Linked DNA regions of Homo sapiens: all the other regions are linked to region 5. The links are contacts of gene promoters, found by promoter capture Hi-C in blood cells and fetal thymus (Javierre and others, 2016). All regions are on one chromosome and are shown on one strand. Each heading gives the region's core, a stretch centred on a gene start or on the middle of the fragment in contact. The rest is flanking DNA. Distances are from core to core; before and after follow the strand shown. Region 1 holds the start of PCDHA5 (protocadherin alpha 5). Region 2 overlaps LOC105378198 (a long non-coding RNA gene). Region 3 holds the start of PCDHA9 (protocadherin alpha 9). Region 4 has its middle 16 kb from the start of PCDHA1. Region 5 holds the start of PCDHGA7 (protocadherin gamma subfamily A, 7).

Region 1 (2,700 bases), core at 107-2,606, 560 kb before region 5:
AACTGGTAAATATATCTTTAAAGATTGTATCAGAAACAATTCTATGACAATATCTTGTTTCTTTACAAGTTTGAATTCCAGAAATCAAGTGAATTTCCTCTGACTTTGCATTTTCTGGTAATTTCTTTTTTCTTATCAAGCTATATTTTAAATGTAAAAGTATCCAACAATAGAATTGCTAATCTCTTGGTCCCTCTTGTCTTCACAGGTAAGGGATATTTTGTAATATTTAAGGAATTTTATGGAGTATATATACAAGCAGAATGTTAGCTATTTCTTCAATAGAAAACTTGGTGATATTTTCTTTTGCCCATATTTATTAAGTGAAGTTTACTAAATTTTCTAGGTCGTGTTCAAATCATACCATCCAGTAAACAGTTGGGAGATTAAAAAGTAATTAAACTAATATAAAGATAGCCTGGTTAATAAAATGATATTCTTTTCAACATGATTATATTTACTGGAACCTAAACATTTTGTGAAATAGTATGTCATATAGACAATATTAGGATTTTGACTTGTTATGTAAGTACAAAGGTATGTATTTTACAATTTTTAATAATTGCTTTATCAGTAATAGCAACTTGAAGAAATGCTATCTAGATGCTTCTAATTTGAAAATAGTGCAAAGACGATTTACCAAAGTCGTTCTATTATGCTTTTGATTTCTAGAAAGCTGAAATATCCCCATTACAGTTTTTGAGTCAATACAAAAAGTAGATAGGTGTTATAGATAAAGAAATAGGTTTTCATCGATTTGAAAATTAGAACTCCGAGAAGAAACTCAGGTAAGAATGCCATTAAAATAGTTTTAGTTGTTTTTGAAAATAACATCAACAAAATGTCACTATTAAACAGTGAAATTGGAATAAAAATTTGTTTTATGAGTAACACGGAGATAGCATACAAACATTCCATTGACTAATACAGAAAAAACTCAAAAGTTTTAATTAGATATGTTTAAATAGAGATGAGAAAAGTCAAAACTTTAACTCTTAAAAGTTATTTTTATCAGTTTGGAAATATATAAACTCCTCCCTATATAAAATACACCAGCACAAATTTCTCTAGTAAGGATTGGGGTTTCATGACTTTAGATGTATTTTTCTGTAATATTTTAATGACGCACTTATATTGACGCATTTTAAGATAGAGTTTAATGATATATTTTGACTAGAGATAAGTGATTTAAAGAATAAGAATCATGTCATTGAAAGTGAGAATACTTGAGAAATATTGACGAATATAAGCTAAATAAAGCAAAACAAAATAAAACACTTACCCTTTCATCCACATGATGTCGCTGGACACCGGAAGGTTTTTCTCCCTTCCCAGCCTCAAAGGAATACAGTGAGTAGATTTTCCTTAGACAGAAAGGAAAAGAACCTTCCATTTTTGGCTGTGCCAAGAAGCTCAGAAAGGCGATAATATAAAAAATATATAGTTAATTGGGAATTGAATTTACAAAATACATTGTGTGGTGATGCAATAGAAAGCTCATAATTGGAACGAGATTGAGATGGTATATTCCCGGAGAGGAAGTCTGGGATCCCGGCTCCTGCTGCTCTGGCTTCTCCTTGCCTACTGGAAGGCAGGGAGCGGCCAGCTCCACTACTCGATCCCGGAGGAAGCCAAACACGGAACCTTCGTTGGCCGCATCGCGCAGGACCTAGGGCTGGAGCTGGCGGAGCTGGTGCCGCGCCTGTTCCGGGTGGCGTCCAAGGGCCGCGGGGACCTTCTGGAGGTAAATCTGCAGAATGGCATTTTGTTTGTGAATTCTCGGATCGACCGGGAGGAGCTGTGCCGGCGGAGGGCGGAGTGCAGCATCCACCTGGAGGTGATCGTGGACAGGCCGCTGCAGGTTTTCCATGTGGAGGTGGCAGTGAAGGACATCAATGACAATCCGCCCAGGTTCTCCAGACAAGAACAAAGATTATTCATTTTAGAGTCAAGAATGCCAGATTCGCGGTTTCCGCTAGAGGGCGCGTCGGATTTGGATATTGGAGCAAATGCACAATTGAGATACAGGTTAAATCCAAACGAATATTTTGACTTAGATGTTAAAACAAATGAAGAAGAAACGAACTTTTTAGAGCTGGTTTTGAGGAAATCCTTAGATAGAGAAGAAACACAAGAACACCGTTTATTAGTGATTGCAACTGATGGAGGAAAACCCGAACTAACAGGTACAGTTCAGTTGTTGATCAATGTATTGGATGCTAATGATAACGCCCCAGAATTTGATAAATCCATTTATAATGTCAGATTGTTGGAAAATGCACCAAGTGGGACATTAGTTATTAAACTGAACGCCTCAGATGCAGATGAGGGCATCAATAAGGAAATAGTGTATTTCTTTAGTAATCTTGTTCTTGACGATGTAAAGTCCAAATTTATAATTAATTCTAATACTGGTGAAATAAAAGTTAACGGGGAACTGGATTATGAAGACTATAACTCATATGAAATTAATATTGATGCCATGGATAAAAGTACATTCCCATTATCAGGACACTGTAAAGTAGTAGTGAAACTCCTGGATGTGAATGATAATACCCCAGAGATGGCCATAACCACCCTTTTCCTGCCTGTCAAAGAGGACGCTCCACTCAGCACGGTCATTGCTCTGATCAGCGTGTCTGACCGTGACTCAGGTGCCAACGGGCAGGTGACCTGCTCCCTAATGCCCCACGTTCCCTT
Region 2 (2,700 bases), core at 166-2,665, 640 kb before region 5:
ACCTACTAGTTTTTCTGTAAATTTGCTGGATATTATAATGTTTATAATCATATTAACTCTAAATAAGGAGAGTTTTATACTCGTATTAACTCTAAACATACAGAGTTTTAACTCTAAATAAAAAAGTTTCATATAAGAAGGTGTATCTTCTCACTCATAAGTGGGAGCTAAGCTATGAGGCTGCAAAGGCATAAGAATGATACAGTGCACTTTGGGGACTCAGGGGTGTAGGGTGGGAAGTGGGTGAGGGATAAAAGACTACAAATTGAGTTCAATGTATACTGCTCTGGTGACGGGTACACCAATATCTCACAAATCACCACTAAAGAACTTACTCACGTAACCAAATACCACCTGTTCCCCAAAATCCTACGGAATAACCTCCTTATACTTTTCCCCTTCTTTTTCTAACCATGGAGAATGCCATATGAACACCTCAGACCTTTATATTTTTCTCTTGTTGTATACACTGGTTAGGCCCTTTGGAACAATGACGACAGGATGATTAAAGTGATGATAGCAGACATCCCTGTCTTGTTCTGGATTTCAAAGGGAAAGCTTTAATCATTTCACCATTAAGTATGATGTTTGCTTTAGCTTTTTTTTTTTCCCCTGGACACCCTTACCAAGTTACAAATATTCTCTTATATGCCTAAGGATACAACTAATATCTGCTAAAAATCTTAAGATTAATTAAGATTATTTTAAAATCATGAAAGGTTGTTGAATTTTATTAAGTAATTTTTCTGCATGTACATAGATAATCATGATTTTCCCTTTAGTTCATTAACTTTGCATATATACTAATTACTTTTATAATGTTAAGTCAACCTCATATCTTGGAGAAATTCTACTTATGCTGTATTATTCTTTTTTATGTACTACTGGATTTAATTTTCTAATAATTAGTATGGGTTTTTTTTCATTTATTTACATTAATGACATTAGACTGGGCTTTTCCTTTTTTGTGTGTATTTTTTACAATAGGATTCACTATCAGGTTATTTTAGCATTAGAAAATCATTTAGGAAGTGTTCCTTCTTATTAATTAGGATAGTTTGTATATGATTGAAATGACTTAATTTTTCTTTTCTTTCTTTTTCTTTTATTGAGACAGGCTCTTGCTCTCTCACCCAGGCTGGAATGCAGTGGTGCGATCATGGCTCACTGCAGCTTCCACCTCCTGGGCTCAAGCGATCCTCCTGCCTCAACCTCTCAAGAATCTGGGACCACAGGCACATACCACACGCCCAGCTAATTTTTTATTTTTAGTCGCGATGAGGTCTCACTGTGTTGCATGGGATGATCTCGAACTCCTGGGCTCAAGCCATCCTCCTACCTCGGCCTCCCAAAGTGTTGGGATTATAGGTGTGAGCCACTGTGCCTGGCCCTAACAATTCTTTGTTAGATGAATATTCATGTTAACATTTTTATGCCTTTGCAAAATATAATTCCCAGCAGAACATGGTCATATACCATGATTGTCTCCTTTTCTTCTTTCTACTTTTCCTGAAGTTAATGCTTGACTTTTCTTCATGTGCTTAGTTTTCCTTGGACCTCTTGTTAATTTTTTGCACATTCTTCAATAACTCTTAGTACAGTTTTCTATGTGGTATATCATTTCAGGTAATCAGAGAAAGTATTAATACAAAAGAGCTATAAGATACCAGAATGTTTAGGCCCAGATCCAGAGAGGAGTAATTGTTGTGGGTTATTACCTAGTAACCAGGTAACAATGAAGCTCTGGTAGCTTTAAAGACCCAAGGCTGGCATTTGGCAGTTTGGGAGGATTTCATGGGTCTGACTCATGTACTGGCTGTGAAAGTTGATTTGAGCTAAAATGACCCCGGTTTGGTCATCTGGGAAGCACTGAGGCTGGTCCAAGACTTGTGGCAGGTAGCCACTGAGTGGGAGGAGGGAGAGTGAGCCTAGACACAGCTGGGGGAACAGTTTTTAGGGAAAGGAAGACATGGGTTTCTCTCAGTGGTGTGCATCCTCAAATGGGGGCTTCCCAAGTTTGTGTGTCCTGGTCTGGAAGTTGTGGTGGGTAGAAGGAAACTTAAAACTCAGCATCGTTCTTGAACCATTCAGGCCTAGGCTGACCCTACTGCCCAGGGTATACCAACTCATGACACTTATCTGTCAAGGAACTCCAAATTCAATCTACTTTCTGCATTATCTCAGTGATATATTTGCATGCTTCTTCCTGTCTGTGTTTTGGGGGCAGGTTTGATGTCCATGGACCCTCTTTAGTCCTCTATGTATGTCCCCACCAAGCTTATCATTTTCTTGGAGATGGGAGAGAGCCCTTTTTCAAGGAGGGGTCTAAAACGGCATGGATTCCTGAGAAGACTAGGCTGGGTCAGGAGCTGAAGAGGTTTAAGGTTGGGACAGAAACTCTGGAGGTTAGCCTTGGTAAGAGTCTTTTGAGACCTACTCCATGAGTAAATCTGCTCTTCACCAAATTTCCAGATCCCCACAGTTCCTCTGAGCAGCTTCTCACTACTGTCATCTCTCCCAGATATGAACCAAATCCCTGGTTGCCAAGACAAGTTGACAAGGTTTGAAAAAGAAACTATTTTGAAACAGAACTTCAAGGAAAAATAAGAACCCATTCTCAGGCAAATCCTAGCAGCTTTGATTAGTAAAGAAACAGCAGTCCTTGTTTGATTCAGACAGTTTATTACTTACATAGACACA
Region 3 (2,700 bases), core at 40-2,539, 530 kb before region 5:
TTAAAACACACAGTCTGCAGAGAATGAAAGCAGGAAAACCAATGTAAGAAGATCTCTTGATTTCTGAGTAATAAACTAAAGGGCCATGAGTGATTAAGGAATTTGGCCACTCTTTAGAATTAATTGGGAGCTATTTAACTACCTTGAGCAAAATAAATCACGACTTTTGAAAGAAGGTTGAACGGGAAGACAAACTCAGAAGCTCCTGCAGTAATCAAGGACAGAAGCAATTGTTAAATGCACCTCTTAGGCTGTTATCAGTAGAAATACGAAATAAAAGATAAATATGCAAAAACATTAATGGCACAATAAACACTCACGGTTTTGCCTTTAGACTTGAGATACACTAAAATCTAGATTTAATTAATCGACTTGGACGTTGGAATAAGATAGTAAAACTCACAACAAAACTTTGTAGAACTTAGTCAGGAAAAGAATCTCAAGCATAGCTTTAAAAACAGAAATTGCCCCGAGTACTAAGGATGAGCAATAATGAAATTAAAACATATTGTAATAACATTACACAAACTATATTGGAGACTACAAAGAAGAGATTATTCATAGATTATAAAGCTTGGAAAGAATCAAAACAACACATTTCTGGAAACAGATTGTATAAATGCTACAAAAGAGAAAAATATATTTTCTCCCCACGCAACACAAGACCTTAAAGTCAATTCTCGCTTTTCTTGCAATATTTTATACCTTTTCAATTCATAGAATTACTCAAGAAAACTACCTCAGTTGGTTGCTACTTTTTGTTGATTCCTTTTACCAGACATGACTAAGTTTCTTTTTCATCAGTAGATTTCTGGGCTCCTATATTCACTAGAGATTGCAACTCCTGGATTTCTCTTACACTAGAATCCTATTTCGAGCCATATGGGAGATTCTGAATTCCAGAACAAAAGAATTTTGTAATTTAAAATTCGTGATTGCTCAATGGAATCATTTTAATTGTTACTTCATTTCTGTCGTTATTTAAAACTTAAGTGGAGAGTTTTCTCAGGGATAAGAAAACCACAATCAAGGTCATACAAAACTTTTAGAGGCAGTCAGTCTGCTAAGAAGGCTCCAGCAAGAGAAACGGGATCTTCTGTTTCAACAATCATTACTTAAGAAAAAATTAAGAAAATGAAATAAGTTTTGCAGAATAACTGTGAAATTTTTATTCATGAAATATGTACTTACACTTTGGGCCACGTGATGTCACTCTTTGCCGCGATGTTCTCTCTGAATCCAGACAAATACAGCCCTTTTCCCATGGGAAAGAGGCTCAATTCTTTTTCACTCTCTCTGTGCTGAACGATGGCGAACACAGCAGAATGGGACTGACGAAATCAGATGATTTCTTCTAATTTGGAGGCAATTTTCACTAATTAGAAGAAGACTGAGTATTTGAAATGTTATACTCAAGTCGAGGAGATCCAGAGGGTCAGCCTCTACTGCTCTCGCTTCTGATCCTCGCAATGTGGGTGGTGGGGAGCGGCCAGCTCCACTACTCCGTCCCGGAGGAAGCCGAACACGGCACCTTCGTGGGCCGCATCGCGCAGGACCTGGGGCTGGAGCTGGCGGAGCTGGTGCCGCGCCTGTTCCAGTTGGATTCCAAAGGCCGCGGGGACCTTCTGGAGGTAAATCTGCAGAATGGCATTTTGTTTGTGAATTCTCGGATCGACCGCGAGGAGCTGTGCGGGCGGAGCGCGGAGTGCAGCATCCACCTGGAGGTGATCGTAGACAGGCCGCTGCAGGTTTTCCATGTGGACGTGGAGGTGAAGGACATTAACGACAACCCTCCAGTGTTCCCAGCGACACAAAAGAATCTGTTCATCGCGGAATCCAGGCCGCTTGACTCTCGGTTTCCACTAGAGGGCGCGTCCGATGCAGATATCGGGGAGAACGCCCTGCTCACTTACAGACTGAGCCCCAATGAGTATTTCTTCCTGGACGTGCCAACCAGCAACCAGCAGGTAAAACCTCTTGGACTTGTATTACGGAAACTTTTAGACAGAGAAGAAACTCCGGAGCTTCATTTATTGCTCACGGCCACCGATGGAGGCAAACCCGAGCTGACTGGCACCGTTCAATTACTCATCACGGTACTGGACAACAATGACAATGCCCCAGTGTTCGACAGAACCCTGTATACGGTGAAATTACCAGAAAACGTTTCTATCGGAACGCTGGTGATTCACCCCAATGCCTCAGATTTAGACGAAGGCTTGAATGGGGATATTATTTACTCCTTCTCCAGTGATGTTTCTCCAGATATAAAATCCAAGTTCCACATGGACCCCTTAAGTGGGGCAATCACAGTGATAGGACATATGGATTTTGAAGAAAGTAGAGCACACAAGATCCCAGTCGAGGCTGTCGATAAAGGCTTCCCACCCCTGGCTGGTCATTGTACACTTCTTGTGGAAGTTGTGGATGTAAATGACAATGCTCCACAGTTGACTATCAAAACGCTCTCGGTTCCTGTAAAAGAGGACGCACAACTGGGGACAGTTATTGCCCTGATTAGTGTGATCGACCTAGACGCAGATGCCAACGGGCAGGTTACCTGCTCCCTGACGCCCCACGTCCCCTTCAAGCTGGTGTCCACCTACAAGAATTACTACTCGTTGGTGCTGGACAGAGCTCTGGACCGCGAGAGTGTGTCCGCCTACGAGCTGGTGGTTACCGCGCGGGACGGGGGCTCGC
Region 4 (2,700 bases), core at 141-2,640, 610 kb before region 5:
TAGGAGCAGTGCCTGTGTCTTAGTCTGTTTAGTAATGCTGTAACAGTCTAGTGGGACCACATAGTTTATAAAGAAATGATTAGTCTCATGGTTCTGGTGACTGGAAAGTTCAAGATTGCATATTTCCATCTGAGGGTCTCAGGCTGCCACATATCATGGTGGAATGTGGAAGGTTAGGCAGTGTGCAAAGAGATCAAATGATAAGAGAGGAGGCAGATGTTTATGTGTGCATGCCAGGTTCTTTTTAACTACCAGCTCTCGTAGGAACTATTTAGAGCATAAACTCACTAACCCAGCAGGGAAGGTATTAATCTATTCATGAGGTATCCACCTTCATGAACCAAATGCTTCCCACTAGGTCCTACCTCCTAACATTGCCACAATGGGGATCAAATTTCAACATGAAGCCTGGAGGGGACAAACATTAAAATTATAGCCACCTGCAAATTCTTTAACCTTCAAACAATCAAACACTTTGCTTCAGTCCTTCAGTTGTTTCCCTAGACAGATTAGAAGAGACAAACAAAAAAAATTGTAAATGAAGTCTGCTCTTCACCCTTTGGTTCTAGGGAAGGAACTGGGAACTGTGCTGTCACCAATTCAAGACCATGTTTGATATTGTGCCAGGAAGAAGGTCAGGCAAGGAAGAGTAAAATCATCACCAAATGTTTCTTTCTGAGACAGGGTCTTTCTCTGTTTTCCAGGCTGTTTTCATTTTTATTTTTTGGTAGAGATGGAGTCTGACTACCCAGGCTAGTCTCAAACTCCTGGCCCAAGCAAACCTCCTACCTTGGCCTCCCAAATTGCTGGGATTACAGGCATGGGCCACAGCTCCTGGCTAGATTTTTTTTTTCTTACAGTCTAAATATGTTCATAGATTTTTTTTTCTTGATTGGGCGTTTACTTGGTTGTTGTAGACCTTTGACTGTTTTTTGTTTTGTTGATGTTTCTGTTGGGGGACAAAAGTTCGGAGCCTCCTTGTTCATGATTTTGCTGTCTTCGCTTCTGATTTTATAATTAAACTTGTTGATATGGTTTGGATATTTGTATCCTCCAAATCTGATGTTAAAATGTGATCTCCAATTTTGGAGGTGAGCCTAGTGGGAGGTATTTTGGTCATGGAGGTGGATCCCTCATGAATGGCTTGGTGCCCTCCCTGTGGTAATAAATGAATTCTCACTTTATTAGTTCACATGATAGCTACTTATTTACAGGAGCCTGGCACCTCTCTTGCCATGTGATATGCCTGCTCCCCTTTCACCTTCTCTCTCCCTTTTTTTTTTTTTTTTGAGACAGAGTCTCACTCTGTCGCCCAGGCTGGAGTGCAGTGGAGCGATGTCAGCTCATTGCAACCTCCACTTCCCTCGTTCAAGCAATTCTCCTGCCTCAGCCTCCAGAGTAGTGGGGACTACAGGCGCGTGCTACCACACCGGGCTAATCTTTGTATTTTTTTAAGTAGAGATGGGGTTTCACTATGTTGGCCAGGCTGGTCTCGAACTCCTGACCTCATGACCTGCCCGCCTTGGCCTCCCAAAGTGCTGGGGTTACAGGCATGAGCCACCATGCCTGGCCTCCTCCTTCACCTTCTATTATGAATAAAAGCTCCTGAGGCCTCAGGAATAAGAGGCTATCAGAAATAGATGTTGCCACCATGCTTCTTGTACAGTCTGCCAAACCATTGGCCAAATAAACCTATTTTCTTTATATAGTACTGACCTCAGGTAGTCCTTTATAGCAAAGCAAATCAGATGAACACACTTATTATTTAAGATAATTGTAGGCTCACATGCAATTATAAGAAATAATAATCCTCTGTACTCTTTACCCACTTTTCCACAATGGTAACATCTTCCAAGACTATCAATATTACATCCAAAATATTGATATTGATGCAGTTAAGATCCAGAACATTTCCATTACTACAGAGATTCCTTATATTGCCCTTTTATGCCCATACTACCTTTCACCCCTGGCCCACCTCTTTCTTAACCCTTGCAACGACTAATCTGTTTTCCACTTTTAAAATGTTGTTATTTCCAGAATGATATATAAATAAAATCATACAGTATAAAACATTTTGTGATTAGTCATTTTCACTCAGCATAATTCTCTGGAAATTCATCCAGGTTATTGAATGTATTAATATAATGGAATAGAATTCCATTACATAGATGTTCCCCTGTTTATTATTCATCTGTTGAAGGACATCTGGGATGTTTTAAGTTCAGGAATATTATGAATGAAATTTGTATTACCATTTGTGTAAAGGTTTTTGTGTGAACACAAGTTTTTACTTCTATTAAATAAATGCCAAAGAATGCAATTATTGTTCTATATGAGAGGTCCATGGGTAGTTGGTTGCTTTGTTTTGTTTTTAAAGAAACTGCCTTACTCTTTATCAGAGTGGCTATAGCAGTTTGCATTATCACCAGAATGTATGAGTAATCTAGTTTCTCTGAATTTTTTTCTAACATTTGGTGTTTTCAACATTTTATCTGAGTCATTCTGATAGGTATCTAATAATACCCAATTGTAGTTTTATTGCTCCTCCCTAATAGCTACTGGCATTGAAAATATGTTCATGTGTTTCTTTGCCTTCTTGGATATTTTCTTTGGTAAAATGTCTTTTCATATCCAGGTTCTAATTGGGCTGTTTGCTTTTTTACTGTTGAGTTTTGACTGTTCTTTTATATGTACTAG
Region 5 (2,700 bases), core at 52-2,551:
GACAGTCCTGCATTTTGCTCAAATGCTGTCTAGAGATCCCTGTTTTCTCAATTACACTAGAATAGAGTAGGATGAAGATTTGAATTGCATACTAGGATGAAGACTTGAATTGAATTGCATAATGAAAAGAATCAGCCAATCCATTATCCAGTTTCTTATGAATTCACAGCCCAGTAGGATCTCTGCAGATTTCTGCCTTCTGTAGAAAATGGGTTGCTTCTATAGCTGATTGCTGCAGCCAAGACAAACAACGATTTCTTTCTTTTTTTCTCACAAGACTGGGAGTGAGAATATTTGGATTCCGACATTGTTCTACTACTATATAATCAATAATCAGGAACAAGGCAAGGCAATTCCCTCTTTCTTTCTTTCTTTCTTTCTTCTTCTTTTTTTTTTTTTTTTTTTTTTGGCAGAGTTTTGCTCTTGTTGTCCAGGCTGGAGTGCAATGGTGTGATCTCGGCTCACCACAACCTCCACCTCCCGGGTTCAAGCGATTTTCCTGCCTCAGCCTCCTGAGTAGCTGGGATTACAGGCGCGCGCCACCACGCCCGGATAATTTTGTATTTTTAGTAGAGACGGGGTTTCTCCATGTTGGTCAGGCTGGTCTCAAGCTCCCGACCTCAGGTGATCCGCCCGCCTCGGCCTCACAAAGTGTGGGATTACAGGCGTGAGCAACAGCACCTGGCCCCCCCTCTCATTTTTTAAACGGTTAAAATGAAGGTGTTAGACCGTCTCTAAGGTTCTATACAATCAAAAATTTATTAAAATAGGTCTATATATTTTACAACAATTTTGACTTTCTGAATCTTGCATCATGGTGTCTAGAACATATGTGTTCAATTAATACTGAATTAATTAAAATTTATATACACTGATGTAAATATTTTCTAAGTAAAATCTTTCATATGTATTTAAATAAAATTTACCTTTTTGCCTTCAATAACTGATTTTCCCATGTGCAATAACGTGTGAGTCAGTGCCCAAAAGAGTCACTTGAAAGTTGCAAGGCAAAGCAGTTTTTTAAAAATTATCTAAGATTATCAAACACCGGTCCATGAACACTGTTGCATTAATTCAGTGTCTTAAAATGGATTTTTAATTATCAGGGATATCTAGAGCAAAGAAATCTAACAGGGAAATTTTGAAAGATGAAACAATTTTCTATGAAATCAGTGTATTGTGTGCATCAATGTGGTGCAGTAACTTAGTAAGGACTCACAGCGCCGCTGTTCACCAACCAGGGAAAAATGGTGCGAGAGATCCCACAGAAACCACCGAGTTTTACAGCACAGAGAAACGACAGATTGCGATAAGCCCTCTTCCAGGCTGCACTAAACTCAAGCCTCTATCCTGCTGGATTCTGAGCTCCCCTTCCTAAGACAGAGGGGTCCACCCGGATACACCCGCATTCTGAAGCACTTCCCGAGATCGGCGCCTAAGCAAGAGAAGCAGGACGACTATGGCGGCTCAGCCGAGGGGCGGGGACTACAGAGGATTCTTCCTGCTCTCCATCCTCCTGGGGACCCCCTGGGAAGCCTGGGCAGGACGTATTCTCTACTCCGTGTCGGAGGAGACGGACAAAGGGTCCTTTGTGGGAGACATCGCCAAGGACCTGGGGCTGGAGCCCCGGGAGCTGGCGGAGCGCGGAGTCCGCATCATCTCCAGAGGTAGGACGCAGCTTTTCGCCCTGAACCAGCGCAGCGGCAGCTTGGTCACTGCGGGCAGGATAGACCGGGAAGAGATCTGCGCTCAGAGTGCGCGGTGTCTGGTAAACTTTAACATCCTGATGGAAGATAAAATGAATCTTTACCCTATAGACGTGGAAATAATAGATATTAATGACAACGTTCCAAGATTCTTGACGGAAGAAATAAATGTAAAAATAATGGAGAATACAGCTCCTGGGGTTCGGTTTCCGTTAAGCGAGGCTGGGGATCCAGATGTGGGCACGAACTCCCTCCAGAGTTACCAGCTCAGCCCCAATCGCCACTTCTCCCTGGCTGTGCAAAGTGGAGACGATGAAACTAAGTACCCGGAACTGGTGCTGGAGCGGGTGCTGGACCGGGAGGAAGAGCGGGTTCACCACCTGGTCCTCACAGCCTCTGATGGCGGCGACCCGCCCCGATCCAGCACCGCCCACATCCAGGTGACAGTGGTGGATGTGAATGACCACACGCCTGTCTTCTCTCTGCCTCAGTACCAAGTAACTGTCCCCGAGAATGTGCCAGTGGGTACAAGACTGCTCACGGTACATGCTATCGACCTGGACGAGGGAGTCAATGGGGAAGTGACATATTCTTTTCGGAAAATAACTCCTAAACTTCCAAAGATGTTTCATCTGAACTCGCTTACAGGAGAAATATCAACTTTAGAAGGATTAGATTATGAAGAAACTGCCTTCTATGAAATGGAGGTTCAGGCTCAAGATGGTCCTGGTAGTCTGACAAAGGCAAAAGTACTGATCACAGTTTTAGATGTAAATGATAATGCTCCAGAAGTGACTATGACGTCTTTAAGTAGCTCAATCCCTGAAGACACACCTCTTGGGACAGTCATTGCTCTTTTCTACCTACAAGACAGAGATTCTGGAAAGAATGGTGAGGTGACCTGCACCATTCCAGAAAACCTACCTTTTAAATTAGAAAAATCAATAGATAATTATTATAGATTGGTCACAACCAAAAACTTGGACCGGGAAAC

What was found. Contacts are between HindIII fragments. The CHiCAGO score rates a contact against its expected background, and 5 or more counts as called.
Region 1: a contact is called between the fragment with the promoter of PCDHA5 here and the fragment with the promoter of PCDHGA7 in region 5, in 6 of 17 cell types (M1 macrophages, M0 macrophages, M2 macrophages and 3 more). The highest score is 10.8, in M1 macrophages.
Region 2: a contact is called between a fragment that was not itself captured here and the fragment with the promoter of PCDHGA7 in region 5, in 3 of 17 cell types (M1 macrophages, M0 macrophages and M2 macrophages). The highest score is 9.5, in M1 macrophages.
Region 3: a contact is called between the fragment with the promoter of PCDHA9 here and the fragment with the promoter of PCDHGA7 in region 5, in 7 of 17 cell types (M1 macrophages, fetal thymus, M0 macrophages and 4 more). The highest score is 11.0, in M1 macrophages.
Region 4: a fragment that was not itself captured here is called in contact with the fragment with the promoter of PCDHGA7 in region 5 in 4 of 17 cell types (M1 macrophages, M0 macrophages, erythroblasts and 1 more); the score reaches 13.7 in M1 macrophages.

Annotation. Positions count from the first base shown.
Region 1 is chr5:140,820,257-140,822,956 of GRCh38, forward strand. PCDHA5 (protocadherin alpha 5) reads left to right here and starts at 1,357. Exons shown (of 4, transcript NM_018908.3): 1 at 1,357-2,700. The coding sequence starts at 1,520. All of the region lies in intron 1 of PCDHA1 (protocadherin alpha 1), which reads left to right. All of the region lies in intron 1 of PCDHA2 (protocadherin alpha 2), which reads left to right. All of the region lies in intron 1 of PCDHA3 (protocadherin alpha 3), which reads left to right. It also overlaps PCDHA4 and PCDHA@. The HindIII fragment of the contact is 13,774 bases long and covers 1-2,700 here.
Region 2 is chr5:140,739,294-140,741,993 of GRCh38, forward strand. The region is part of intron 3 of LOC105378198 (a long non-coding RNA gene); the gene reads left to right. Among named protein-coding and RNA genes, the nearest start is that of ZMAT2, 40 kb to the left of the region's middle. The HindIII fragment of the contact is 1,719 bases long and covers 557-2,275 here.
Region 3 is chr5:140,847,093-140,849,792 of GRCh38, forward strand. PCDHA9 (protocadherin alpha 9) reads left to right here and starts at 1,290. Exons shown (of 4, transcript NM_031857.2): 1 at 1,290-2,700. The coding sequence starts at 1,404. The region is part of intron 1 of PCDHA1 (protocadherin alpha 1); the gene reads left to right. The region is part of intron 1 of PCDHA2 (protocadherin alpha 2); the gene reads left to right. The region is part of intron 1 of PCDHA3 (protocadherin alpha 3); the gene reads left to right. It also overlaps PCDHA4, PCDHA5, PCDHA6, PCDHA7, PCDHA8 and PCDHA@. The HindIII fragment of the contact is 21,410 bases long and covers 572-2,700 here.
Region 4 is chr5:140,768,921-140,771,620 of GRCh38, forward strand. No RefSeq gene overlaps it. Among named protein-coding and RNA genes, the nearest start is that of PCDHA1, 16 kb to the right of the region's middle. The HindIII fragment of the contact is 3,232 bases long and covers 1-2,700 here.
Region 5 is chr5:141,381,441-141,384,140 of GRCh38, forward strand. It overlaps PCDHGA7 (protocadherin gamma subfamily A, 7), which reads left to right and starts at 1,302. Exons shown (of 4, transcript NM_018920.4): 1 at 1,302-2,700. The coding sequence starts at 1,460. The region is part of intron 1 of PCDHGA1 (protocadherin gamma subfamily A, 1); the gene reads left to right. The region is part of intron 1 of PCDHGA2 (protocadherin gamma subfamily A, 2); the gene reads left to right. The region is part of intron 1 of PCDHGA3 (protocadherin gamma subfamily A, 3); the gene reads left to right. It also overlaps PCDHGB1, PCDHGA4, PCDHGB2, PCDHGA5, PCDHGB3 and PCDHGA6, and 1 more gene. The HindIII fragment of the contact is 6,225 bases long and covers 1-2,700 here.